Regions from separate parts of the Homo sapiens genome. Here regions 2 and 3 are each linked to region 1. Evidence: promoter capture Hi-C in human tissues and cell types (Jung and others, 2019). All regions are on one chromosome and are shown on one strand. The core of a region is centred on a gene start or on the middle of the fragment in contact, and the rest is flanking DNA. Distances in the headings are between cores, read along the strand shown.

What was found. Contacts are between HindIII fragments. The study calls those that stand out against the background at their distance.
Region 2: a contact is called between a fragment that was not itself captured here and the fragment with the promoter of CHP2 in region 1, in 2 of the 25 tissues and cell types used here (mesenchymal stem cells and spleen).
Region 3: a contact is called between a fragment that was not itself captured here and the fragment with the promoter of CHP2 in region 1, in 2 of the 25 tissues and cell types used here (dorsolateral prefrontal cortex and lymphoblastoid cells).

What each region holds. Positions count from the first base shown.
Region 1 is chr16:23,752,638-23,757,196 of GRCh38, forward strand. It overlaps CHP2 (calcineurin like EF-hand protein 2), which reads left to right and starts at 2,389. Exons shown (of 7, transcript NM_022097.4): 1 at 2,389-2,479; 2 at 3,024-3,096; 3 at 3,210-3,290; 4 at 3,426-3,556; 5 at 3,751-3,812. The coding sequence starts at 2,413. RefSeq lists an enhancer at 2,277-2,922. The HindIII fragment of the contact is 8,876 bases long and covers 1-4,398 here.
Region 2 is chr16:24,365,783-24,370,341 of GRCh38, forward strand. No RefSeq gene overlaps it. Among named protein-coding and RNA genes, the nearest start is that of CACNG3, 110 kb to the left of the region's middle. The HindIII fragment of the contact is 3,061 bases long and covers 811-3,871 here.
Region 3 is chr16:24,275,357-24,279,915 of GRCh38, forward strand. The region is part of intron 1 of CACNG3 (calcium voltage-gated channel auxiliary subunit gamma 3); the gene reads left to right. Among named protein-coding and RNA genes, the nearest start is that of CACNG3, 21 kb to the left of the region's middle. The HindIII fragment of the contact is 9,849 bases long and covers 1-4,559 here.

The sequences.
Region 1 (4,559 bases), core at 1,139-3,638:
CTGGCCTGCGGTGCTTATCACAGCTTCTTAGGGCTCTCATCTCCTCCTGGGTTCAGAACTGAACCCAAACTACATGCACAGCCTGACTCACAGCTGTGGGTTGCAGTGATTGCTGGGCTTCATTAGGGAGGAGTGTGGTTTCCCGCATGCTTAGTCTTTGGGGGGAGTCTGAAAGAGAATCAAGCATTCCTTATGCCAGTTGCTTAATCCTTGGGGGTATCTGAAAGAAGCAAGCACTTCTTAGATCAATATTTTCAAGACTTATCTGATGCAGGCCTCTGCCTGGGGCTGGAGGATAGACTGTTTCTTCAGCTTCTCTCTCTCCAGGGTGGATATGAACTTGAGCCCTTGCAATGAACTGCTTGCATGTTTTCCCCCCTGGGAAATTTGTGTATGTATGTGCAATTATGATGGGGGAAACGGTTTAAAGATACTTTCAAAAGTGGACACTTCTAGTGTTTGTCCCTTGACAAATGAGTTTCTCGACCTGTTTTTTTTTCATTATCAACGCCTCCCCTAGTCTTTTTAATTTCCCCACCCTCACCCCTACCCCATGAAATTTTATTTTCTTTCTTTTTTTTTTTTTGAGACCAAGTTTCGATCTTTTTGCCCAAGATGGTGTGCAATGGCGCGATCTAGGCTCACCTCAATCTCCACCTCCCGGGTTCAAGCGATTCTCCTGCCTCAGCCTCCCGAGTAGCTGGAATTACAGGCATGCACCACCACGCCCAGCTAATTTTGTATTTTTAGTAGAGACTGGGTTTCTCCATGTTGGTCAGTCTGGTCTCAAACTCCTGACCTCAGGTGATCCGCCCGTCTCGACCTCCCAAAGTGCTGGGATTACAGGCATAAGCCACCGCGCCCGGCCTCTTTTCTTTTCAAGACAGGGTCTCACTCTGTCACCCAGGCTGGAGTGTAATGGCGTGATCATGGCTCCCTGCAGCCTCAACCTCCTGGGCTCAAGTGATCCTCCTGTCTCAGACTCCCAAGTAGCTGAGACTACAGGCATGTGCCACGACACCTGGTTAATTTTTTTTTTTTGTATTCTTTTGTAGAGATGGGGTCTCACTATGTTGCCTAGGCTGGTCTTGAGCTCCTGGGCTCAAGCAATCCTCCTGCCTCTACCTCCCAAAGTGCTGGGATTACAGGCATGAGCCTCCACGTCTGCCCTGAAATTTCAATATCACAGCTATACTGTATATCTATTTATGTGCTGTATGTATGCTGTGCTTTGTACATAAAAAATATGTTTTATTTTTTGCCCCGTTGGGGTGAGATAGAGACCGCACTGAGAATGCACGCTTTACATAATTAGTTCACAACTTGCCCCCGGCAGCCTCCACCACGTAAAATTAGAAGAAAGCAGCCCAGCAGGGCCTACAAGGAATGTGTGAACGGATGCACGTAAAGTGCTTAGCAAAGCGTGGTAAACAAGAGCCCTTGTTGTCATTCTTGCTTTAAGCCTAGTCCCAGTGATGTCTGTAACCCTCTCTTGGGCCAAGGAGTCCCATGGCTCTGGAGGGCTGTTCAGAGGACTAAGTCATTCCCAGTCTGGAGCTCTACGGGATCAGTAGGTACCTAAGGGAGTGAATTGGGCTTGGAGGGACTGTGGCCAGAAGACAGCTCTGGGCCTGGTGGTGATAGAACTTCTGATTTCTCAGGAAAAGCCAAGAATGTGGATTTTGGGTTAAATCTCCTGAATTTTAAGCATTGGCTCAATTAAACAACAATAAGGCAATGTGAACCGAACAAAAGGGATGAAACCAAGATTTACTGACTTTCCCAGAGTCACGGGCACGGCTGGGATTCCAACAAGGACTCCCAAACCAGTGCTCTTTCCACTTAACCTAACGCACACCCTTCATCTCGCCGCCCCTCCCCACTTCCCCGTCTTTGGGAGTTCTTCGATGCCTCTTCCCCCCTCCCCCCAGGATTCCCTCCCCATAGGCCACCCGCCTTCCAGCAGGGCGTGGTCTCTACAGAGGAGGTCAGGTCTCCCAGGCTTCCTCAGCGTCGACGCCGGGGAGCGCCCTGGGGTTGGGAGCGCCCGGGGCCCGCGAAGGAGGAGGTGGCTCAGGTGTCAGGGCGCACCGTGGGAACCGGCCCCGGGGGAGGCGTGGAAACGCGGGGCCTGGGACTCGACCAGCCTCTCCCGTGCGGATCGCAAAATCTCGGAGCTGAAACAGCCCGTTGTTCGCAGCCTCCCTCTGACCCGCCACCCTGCACATTGTTTTCCATTCGCCCGGGTCGCGGGTGGGAGGAGAGGCACGCCGGGGTTCTGGAGCTTGGCCGCGCGCCAGGCTTGTGGCCTTCGTCCCCCTGGGGCCACTGGGGCGGCCACGCCTCTCCGGCGGGAGGAGAGAACGCGTGGGTCCGGGTGGCTGCTCCGGCCCTTCCGCCTCCAGCTCGGCCATGGGGTCGCGCAGCTCCCACGCCGCGGTCATTCCCGACGGGGACAGTATTCGGCGAGAGACCGGCTGTGAGTGCGCCCGCGTCGGCGGCTGCGGAGGGGACGGGGCGAACCCAGGCGTCTGGGGCTAGGGAAGGGGTTGGGTTGAAGGATGGACGAACTTACAAGTCTGGGGTCCGGGGCTCCCCGGAGCTGGAAGACCAAGGCCCCTGTGCCTGGGATCGCTGGGTTAGGGGCGGGTTAACCTAGGGGTCCCAGCCTCCAAGTCTGGGGAGGATCCGGGTTCACGGGGTCGGAGTCCAGAGGAATCCAGGCACCCAGGTGTCCTCCAGCCCGGCTCGAAGCTGAAGGCAGAGCTGACGGCGGTTGGAAGGGATGGCTTTGGTTCTTTGGTTTTCGGGAGGTTGCGAGCCGCCCGGGTCTTGAACCTGGATCTTCGCGGGGTCGTGTCACTCTCCCTCCGCCCCGGCCAGCTCAACCCCTGATTCCCCGGGATGATCGCCCCTTCCAGCCAGCCCCCGCTGTTCTGGCCCATCTTCCTGGCCTGTTGGGGCGGGTTTCTGGAGCTGGCCCTGCAGAGTCACACACCCCCACCCCACTCTCCTTCCCGCAGTCTCCCAAGCCAGCCTGCTCCGCCTGCACCACCGGTTCCGGGCACTGGACAGGAATAAGAAGGGCTACCTGAGGTGAGGGGGAGCCGGCCTCATAACTTCTGGCCTCTGTCTCTCTGACTCCATGTCCCTCTTTGACCCTCCGTCTGGCATCTCTGCCTTACCCTCTTTGAAATTTGGCTTTGCAGCCGCATGGATCTCCAGCAGATAGGGGCGCTCGCCGTGAACCCCCTGGGAGACCGAATTATAGAAAGCTTCTTCCCCGATGGGTGAGGCTTGCTGGGCGTGGGGAGGTGAAGGCGGGAAAACCGGTGTGTGAGTGGGTGGGAGGGGAGGTTAGAGACGGAGGCAAAGTGATGGCCAAGGTGACCACCACCTCTTTCCATTCTGTCCCGTCTCCCCAGGAGCCAGCGAGTGGATTTCCCAGGCTTTGTCAGGGTCTTGGCTCATTTTCGCCCTGTAGAAGATGAGGACACAGAAACCCAAGACCCCAAGAAACCTGAACCTCTCAACAGCAGAAGGAACAAACTTCACTGTGAGTTTGTGAGGACCTGCACAAGTGAGAATGCAGATGTACCCACACCAGGGACAGGCTCCAGGGATCTCCCACTCCCTTCCTGAGGGCATTGACAACCTCCCCCCTCCTCCAAGGTGGGGGGAAGGAAGGTGGCTGCTGGAAGAGAGCCAGGGAAGACCTACCTTCCTTTCCCCCTCCCACCCTCTCCCCAGATGCATTTCAGCTCTATGACCTGGATCGCGATGGGAAGATCTCCAGGCATGAGATGCTGCAGGTTGGCAGAAAGCGAGAGCAAGAGATGTGATGTGTGAAGGATGGGATGGTTAAATGCAATGGTGTGAGAGATGGGGTGGGATGATTGGGGAACTGGGGCGCAGATAATTGGGGTATTGGTTGGGAAATGGGAATGGGTGCAGTTAGAGTGTGGGTTTGTTGGGAGTCGGAGTGGGGAGCAGTTGACTATGAGGTTGGGAATAGATCAGTGATTCTCAACTGGGGGTGATTTTGCTCCCTGAGTGAATATCTGGCAATATCTGGAGATGCTTTTTGTTGTCACAATGGGGGAGAGAGTGTGCTACTGGCATCTAGTGGGTAGAGGTCAGGAATGTGGCTATATATCATGCAATACCCAGGAGAGCCTCTTCCAACAAGGAGTTACCTGGCTCCAAATGTCAACAGTGCCAAGATTGAGAAACTCTGGAACAGATGTGATGGAATGAGGATGGAATTAGAAACCCTTAGTGGCTAAGGTGGAGAATGGTGTGGAGGATGGATGGAGGTTGGGTGATAAAGTTGGGTAATGAGTTTGAGCATATTTTGAGGGTAGTGCAGGATGGTGAGGGAGAGATAGGAGATTGGTTGTTGAAGCAGTAGGGAAAATTATTGGGGGATATGGTGAAAAATGGATGAAGGATGGATTATAAAATTAGCAATAACTTTTGGGATGAGGTGGGCAAGGTTTAGGAGATGGGGAGTTGCAGCCTTCGTGCCCCCTCCTTATGGCTGCCTCTTCACTCATCTC
Region 2 (4,559 bases), core at 1,091-3,590, 610 kb after region 1:
TTCAGGCCTATCCTTGCCATCCAAATCCACTGGAAGATTATTTCCATTCACTAAGCCGCCACCCTCTGTGTCAGACACTGTGCCATGAACTTCACTCATCTTGTCTCATTGAATTCTCATATTTGTGGCAGGTATGATTGTTAAATCCATTGTGAAGATGGTGAAACTTACAAGTAGACAGCAAAGTCGATACACAAACCCACGTCTGCCTGACTTGAAAGCCCATGCAGCAGCCCCTCACTAAGCATTCCTGGCCATGCTGCTTGAATCTCTTGCTCCATTGCTGAGTTCTCCATCTCCTTCTCCCTCAAATGCAGCTCCCTTTCCCAGCTGCATTTGAGGGACCAAATTTCTGGACCAGCAGATCCCTCCACCAATCTCAGGACCAGAACCCTTGAGTTTCTCTTTGCTGCTGCTTTAATGTGTAGTCCCTGGAACTGAGTTTTTGCCAAGTTATGCCTCTACCTTTTGAGAACAGAGAGGCAGCTTGCACAACATTCAAGCATGGAAACTCTGCAACTGGATCTGGACAGTTGCGGAGTTTGATTCCTTTGACTTTGAATCCAATGACTTTGAATCCCAGCTCTGTATTTATCAACCACAGACCTTTGACAAGATCGTCACCCTCTGTCTCAGCTTCTCTGTCCATAAAATGGGCACAAATATAGCACTTACTCCGTAAGTTCATCGTGAGGATTAAATGAGCTTACCTTCACAACGCACTTAGAAAAGAACTTGAAACACCATAAGCACCATATAGATGTTAGCTATTGTGATTTAATATAGTTCACAGATTTACATTTTTCCCATTTGGGTGCTTTTCTGCCTGGACAATCTTCTTTTCCAGATCTTGTCAGCACAGGCTTCTGCACTAATCAGGCTGGTGTCCACACTATACCCTGGGCTAGCTCAGGCTTTCTCCCGATTCTCTGCCTTTGCTGATAAAGGTTATCCCTACCTGAAATGTTTCCGCTTGCCCTCTCCAAATCCTATCCATCCTTCAAGGCCAAGGTCAAGCCTCATGCTTTCCATGAAGTCTTTTTTTTTTTTTTTTTGAGATAGAGTCTCACTCTGTTGCCCAGGCTGGAATGTGGCGGCACAATCTCAGCTCACTGCAACCTCCGCCTCCCAGGTTCAAGCAATTCCCATGCCTTACTCACCCAAGTAGCTGGGATTACAGGTGTACACTAAAACTCCCGGCTAATTTTTGTATTTTATTAGGGATGGGGTTTTGCCATGTTGGCTGGTCTCAAACTCCTGACCTCAAGTGATCTGCCCACCTCGGCCTTCCAAAGTATTGGGATTACAGGCATGACCCATTGCACCCAGCACCATGAAGTCTTTTGTGGCTCCTCGGGCCACACAATCTCTCACTTCTGCGCATTCATCCATTTATTCATTCATTTATTTATTCAGCACTTATCATTCAGCACTTATTGTGCGCTGGTGCTATCGTTTGGATGTTTGACCCCCTTCAAACCTCATGTTGAAATTTGATCCCCAATGCTGAAAGTGGAGCCTGATGAGAGGCAGATGGGTCAGAGAGGTGGATCCCTCATGAGTAGATTAATGCCCTCCCTTGGGAATGAGCGGATTCTTACTGTATTAGTTCACATGAGCTGGTTGTTTAAAACAGCCTGACACCTCCCCTCTGTCTCTCTCTTGCTTCCTCTCTTGCCATGTAATCTCTGCATATGCCGGCTCCCCTTGCCTTCTGCTGTGAGTAAAAGCTTCCTGAGCCCTCACCAGAACAGATGCTGGCACCATGTTTCTTGTACAGCCTGCAGAACCGTGAGCCAAATAAACCTCTGTTATATATAAATTACCCAGCCTCAGAGATTCCTTCACAGCAACACAAAACAGACTAAGACAGCCAGAAGGAGTAATAATCCCAAAAGATATGACCACTGTCCTCATGGAAGTCTCAGTCTAGTGGAGGAGACAAGCACTGAACAAATGAACATACACATCAACATCATTCAAAATTGTGATCTATGTCATGAAGGGAAAACGTAATGCAAAAAATACAAATATAAATGGGAATCTCTGGCTAGGTGCGGTGGCTCACACCTGTAATCCCAGCACTTTGGGAGGCCGAGGTGGGTGGATCACTTGAGGTCAGGAGTACGAGACCAGCCTGGCCAACATGGTGAAAATTCACCTCTACTGAAAATACAAAAATTAGCCGGATGTGGTGGCACACGCCTGTAATCTCAGCTACTCAGGAGGCTGAGGCAGGAGAATCACTTGAACCTGGGAGGCGGAGGTTGCAGTGAGCCGAGATCAAGCCACTGCCCTCCAGCCTGGGCGACACAGCCAGACGGTATCTCAAAAAATAAAATAAAATAACATAATAAATAAATAAACAGGGACCTCTAATTTAGCTGGTGGAGGGGAGATCAAAGAAGAGGAAATGACATTTAGGATCAGAGCAAAAGCAAGATTGGGAGTTATTCGAGGAAAGGGAATAAATAAAGTGTCTAGGGGAAAAAAACCAGCATGTGCAATGTCCTGAGACTGGAGAGACCAAAAACAAACAAACAAACAAAAAACAACCAACCAAGCAAACAACAACAGCAAAACAGGCCAGTAAGGTGTAGGAAGAGTAGCACTGATGAGAACAGGAAAGAAAGCTGGGTCCAGAGGATGCAGCATTAAGGGCATGCTAAGGATGTTGAGTTTTGACCCTAAGTGCATTTAGAAGCCATTTGACAGTTTTAATCAGGAATACATTAGACACTACCTAACATGTATTTTCAGAAGTTTAATAAGTTAGGCACCCAGTGAAATGCTAGTTTCCTAGATCTTATCTCTGGAGTATCATTGCCTGCTTTATCTACAGTCCCTGGTAGGAAGGCAGGACCTGTCCTTGGTCACAGCTGATTGGATCAAAGATTGCACCTGATATAAGGCCAGCCAATCCAGTCATAGGATGGCCAGTGGTCTAGGATTTGCAACTAGACTCCAAAAGGTCAGCTGGTCCAATCAGATGATCTCTAAGAGACTTAACTAAGAGACACAAAAGGCAATTACCAGTTGGCTACAAGGAGCAGAACAGAGAGGATATGAGGGACCCATGAGGCTAGGGCTGCAACAGTCAGCCAAATGCAGGTTAAAGTTATACCAAAAAAAACTGCTTGGTAAAGAGAAGACAACTCTGTAAAGGCTTCTCATTGTACGTAAATAAAATTCAAATTTTTGGCCGGGCATGGTGGCTCACGCTTGTAATCCCAGCACTTTGGGAGGCTGAGGCGGGTGGATCACCTGAAGTCAGGAGTTCAAGACCAGCCTGACCAATATGGTGAAACTTCGTCTCTACATAAAATACAAAAAAAAAATTAGCCAGTCATGGTGGTGGGCACCTGTAGTTCCAGCTACCCAAGAGGCTGAAACAGGGGAATTGCTTGAACCTGGGAGGTGGAGGTTGCAGTGAGCCGAGGCCACGCCACTGCACTCCAGCCTGGGTGCAGGGAGACTCCTTCTTCAAAAAAAAAAAAAAAAAAAAACAAAATTTGTCTAGGATCTCCAAGTTCTTGCATTATCAGGAGCATGCTGACCCATTCAACTTTATTCTGTGCCATTAAGTTGGTGCGAAAGTAACTTTATTCTGTGCCATTACTTTCAATGGCAAAAACTGCAATTATTTTTGCGCCAATCTAATACTTCCATCTTGCTACCTGCACTCCAGTCAGGCTGTCCTTTTTTCAGTTCCTTGCTCAAGCCTCAGGGCCTTTGCACCTGCCATTCCTACTGATTGAAATGTCTTCAATCTCTTTACATGGCTGGCCCCTTCTCATCCTTCAGATCTGAGCTGGACAAGTCACTCCTGAGAGAGGACTTTCCTCAACAACTCTCTAAAGTAGATCACCTCTTATTCTTTACTCGAGTTCATCCTTATTCCCTTGAGAGGTCAAAATTTTGTAATATTTTATTTTGTTTTTGTTTATTTATTTTTATAGATTTCTCTACAAGAACACACATTTTGTGAGAGCAAGGTCCTTGACCATATAATCCATGCCTAATATGGAGCCGTTCACGTGGTGGGTCGGAAGGAGAATGCATTAAGAACTGTTTAGAGGAAAGCAGAAACATCTCAAGGGAGAGGAAGGGAGCGGCTTCCTTGTCACTCAGGCTGGAGTGCGGAGATGCGATCACGGCTCACTGTAGCCTCAGCCTCCTGGGCTCAAGTGATCCTCTCACCTCAGCCTCCTGAGTAGCTGGAACTACAGGTGTGCTGCCACACCCAGCTAATTTTTTTTATTTTTTGTAGAGACAGGGTCTCACTGTGTTACCCAGGCTGGTATCAAACTCCTGGGCTCAAGTGATCTTCCCGCATCAGGCCCCCAAAGTGTTGGGATTTACAGGCATGAGCCACCATTCTTGGTCTCTTCTTTGTTTCTAATAGCTTCCCTGTCCCGTCTCCTCAAGGCCCATCTCAATTTGAGTTGCCATTCTCAGATCCCTGGGTCACTTTTTCTGCATTCCTTCAACAATCCTCCCTTTTCTTGAGCCAGCCTGAGTGGGCTACCAAATAAACACTAACCAGAAGCTGTGTCTCT
Region 3 (4,559 bases), core at 1,370-3,869, 520 kb after region 1:
AGCCTCACTTAAAAATGTCCCTGATGAAGCCATAAAGAGGCATCAATTTTATTAAATCTCAGACCTTGAGTGCTAGATTTATACAGTCTGAGTAACCAAATGAGAACTATGCATTGAGTACCTCAGCCAGAGTATGCTAGTGGTCTCAAGCAAAGGCACTTATGCGACTGAGTTGCGAGCTGAACTAGCTGCTTTTTTCCATGAAACACCATATTTACTTGAAAGAATGACAGGTAAATTATGGTTATTCAGGCTTGGGTATTTGGCAGACATTTTCTCAAAAATGAGCTAAGTGAGCCTGTCACTTCAAAGAAAGCAACTGACAGTATTTGTTGCCAAGGATAAAAATTCAAGGTTTCAAGTGATAATTATGATTTTGGAAAACTTGTGTCCCTGTGAGCCAATGTGATTTGTTTTTACACTGTGTAATGAAATGTGCCAAATTTAGAAGACCTGCATAACTCAGTGAAACAATACTTTCCGAATGACCAATGAATGATGTTACAAAGTTATGCCTGGCTAAAAGACCCATTCAACGTGCAGGATTAGAAAAATGGATTTTCATGTAGTAGAGCATGAAAAGTTAATATGGTTTCAGATTCCACATTGCAACTAGCCTTTAAGGAACTACCACTTGTCGAGTTTTGGTGTAGTATCAAAGAATATTCACAGTTATTTCAAAAGCTATTCAAATACTGCTCTATTTGTCAAACTTGTGTGAGGCTAGGTTTTCTTCATAAACTTCAAGTCTAACAACAGTGGGCAACAGATCAAATGCAAAAGCAGATATAAGAATCTATCTCTCTTCTCTTGAGCCAGACATTAAAGAGATTTTCAAAAGCGTAAAAACAATTCTTCTCACTATTTTTTGTTCTGGAAAATATAGTTATTTTTATACAAATATTTATGTTAACATGCAATTGAATTTATCATTATTTTCAAATGAATTTTAAAATAACTATTTCACTATTTTAGGGGGGTTTTAATTTCTGATATAGGAAATATTAAATAGATACAACCCACATAAACAAAAGTTCAATAATTTGCAAAAGTGTAAAGGAGTCCTAAGACCAAAAAATTTGAGAGCCTCTGCTACAGCTGTATTTTAATTCTGTTGACTAACTTCATATAGTTGAGGAGAGAAACTAAAAGAGCTATTTCCATACTTTCATCAGAAGATTTCCTTCTAGTTCTGTCTTTTCTTCTCCAGTGGGAAATGAAACAGTCCCTTGGTGGGTTCTGGTATCTTTTTGACTTCTCTTTAGTTGCAGCTAAGCTAAGTCATTGTTCCACCATCACTGGGATGGAAGAGGCAACATGAGATTTCAGCAGGCACTGAAAAAGGTGTCTTTGATTAAAATGCAACCCTGCTGATATAAAGTTGGACAGAGCCTGGAGGATTCATAGCATCTTGTGTCTTTGTTCATGAAAACTGACAAAGCTTAGCCACCACTCCACAAAAAGTTGAGATCTGTGGTGATATTCTTCATATGTGAGATGAAGCAAAGTGCAAAAAAACTGAGATTTTTGACCAAGTTTTTGGTGGATTGGAATTTAAATGTATAAATTTTCCACCTTCTAACCTATAATTAAAGACACTGTGGGTGAGGATGGAGAATTTGGGAAATGGAAGGGTCTAGTGGGCAATCACTGAACAAACATTTATCTTGGCCAGTGCCAGGGCTTGGTTCTTGGAAATGGAGAAATGGGCACTTGAAGGGAGGCTGGATTATGTGGCCACGAATGTTTTTGTTTGTTGTTTGGCCAACCTCACATCCATTCCTCCTTTTTCTGGTCAAAGGAGGGGTTGCCATGTCACCCTGTCCTCAGTCCATGTGGTTTGGGTGGAACTGACTCCAGCCTAGCAGGACCAGCATATGACCTAGGAATGACCTTGAGGATTATCATTCGGCATCTGGAGTTTATACTAAGGCAGTAGCTCTCGACAGGAACATTTGGTAATGTCTGAGACACTTTTGGTTGGGGGATCAGGGAAGCACAACCAGATCTAGCAGGTGATATCAGGGACGCCGCTAAACCCCTTGCAATGCGCAGGACAGCCCCTACAACACAGCATTACCCAGTCCCTAATGTCAGGAGTACCGAGGTTGAGAATCCTGATCAAAAGGTAAAGGGAGCTGAGTGCGGTGGCTTACACCCGTGATCCCAGCACTTTGGGAGGCCGAGGTGCGCGGATCACTTGAGGTCAGGAGTTCGAGACCAGGCTGGCCGAAATGGTGAAACCCCGTCTCTACCAAAAATACAAAAATTGGCCAGGTGTAGTGGCACATGCCTGTAGTCCCAGCTACTCTACTCAGGAGGCTGAGGCAGGAGAATCGCTTGAACCCAGGATGCGGAGGTTACAGTGAGCAGAGATTGCACCACTGCACTCCAGTCTGGGTGACAGAGCAAGACTCCATCTCAAAAAAAAAAAAAAAAAAGTAAAGGGAAGCCATGAAAGAGTTTTAAGCAGAAGAGCAATAGGATCTAAATTGATGTATGTATGGTATTTGTTTGTTGTTGTTTACTTTTTATAAAATAGAGATGGAGATCTTACTATGTTGCCCAGGCTGGTCTCCAACTCCTTGGCTCAAGTGATCCTTCTGCCTTGGACTCCCAAAGTGCTGGGATTACAGACATGAGCCACAGCACCTAGCTAACTGATGACTTTAAACTGTGGTCAGGTCCCAGGTAGAAACAGATTTTTGAGACGTAAGAAGGGAGCAGGAGATAAGCCAGTGGGCTATTGCAATAACTTTAGAGAGAGAAGACCCTTGGAGTATGGAAGGTAGTATGATGTGGAAGGAGGTATGATCTGGGAAATGCACATTTGGAAATCATCAGTGGTAAAAGGCAGAATCTTGAATGTGAATAAGAGCTTCCAATAAGACTGTAAAAAATAAGAAAATAGGACCAAAGACAGAGCCTTGGGGGAACATCCATGCATAACAAGTAAAATAATAATAATATCTAACACTGGGCAGGGCACAGTGACTCACACCCGTAATCCCTGCATTCTGGGAGGCTAAGACAGGTGGATTACAAGGTCAAGAGATTGAGACCATCCTGGCCAACATGGTGAAATCCCATCTCTACTGAAAATACAAAAATTAGCTGGGTGTGGTGGCACATGCCTGTAGTCCCAGCTACTTGGGAGGCTGAGGCAGGAGAATTGCTTGAACCTGGGAGGTGGAGGTTGCAGTGAGCCGAGATTGCACCACTGCACTCCAGCCTGGCGACAGAGGGAGACTCTGTCTAAAAATAATAATAAATAAATAAATAAATAAAATCTAACACTGTTTGAGAGTTTATGTGCCAGCTTCTATGCTAAATAACTTACACGATTACATCTGACCCTTTTTAACAACCCTTCATATCTCCATTTCACAGATTAAAAACCTTAGGCACAGAGAGGTTAAGTAACTGGCCCAAGGTCACACATGGAGCTATTATCTGAGACAGGATTTGAACTCAAATGATATAACTCCATGGCTTTCCTTCTTATCTACCAAGCTGACTCCTTGAATGGAGAAAAATCTTCCAAAAGGAAAATTACCTCTTAAGAGCTGAAAGATGAGCAAAAGTTAGAGAGATGAAGGGATGGGTTGTTGTCCCGGGAAAAGGGAACAGCAAATACCAAGGTCTGGAGGCTAGATGGAGCATAAAGAGAGCCTAGGACAGAAGCCAAAACATACAGTAATGGCTGGAGCAGGAGTGGGCTGAGTGGGGAGAATGGCAAGACTGGAGAAGTAGACAGGGGCCGTGTCATGCAGATCTTTGGGAGGCACGTTAAGTAAGACTTTATTCTAGGGGAAACAGAAATTCTTTGGAAAGATTAAAATAGAAAATTAAAGATCTGACGTAATCAGGTTTTCATTTTTGAGGCTCATTCTGGCGGAAGTGTGGGACATGGACTGGGGAATGGAAAAGGAATAGTTTTATTTTTATTTTTCTTGAGACAGGGTCTCACTCTGTTGGCCGGGCTGGAGTGCAGTGGTGCAATCTCGGCTTACTGCAGCCTTGACTTCCTGGGCTTAGGTGATCCTCCCACCTCAGCCTCCTGAGTAGCTGGGACTACAGAGGTGCACCGCTACACCTGGCTAATTTTGTTTATTATTATTATTATTTTGTAGAGAGAGTATCTCACTATGCTGCCTAGGCTAGTCTTGAACTCCTGGGCTCAAGCAATCCTCCTGCCTCAGCCTCCCAGAGTGCTGGAACTACAAGGGTGACCCAGTTCGCCCAACTGAGGAATATTTGCAGACTGGTTAAGAGACATTAATGCAATAATCCCATAGCAATAATAGAATCCTATATAAGGGAGATGGACTCATTGGCCATCACTTTGGTAGATGCTTGAAAGCTGGAATCAACTTAATTTCCTGACTGTTGCATGTAAAGGTAAGAGAGAATGAGCTCAAGGCACATCTAGGTTTCTGCCTTTAACCTTTGGATGGACAGTGATCCCCTTTAGGATGAAAAGTTTAGTGATGGGGAGAGGGTGAGTCTGGTTTTAAAAGTGTTGAGTTTGCAGCTTCCTTTGTAACACTCAAGTGGAG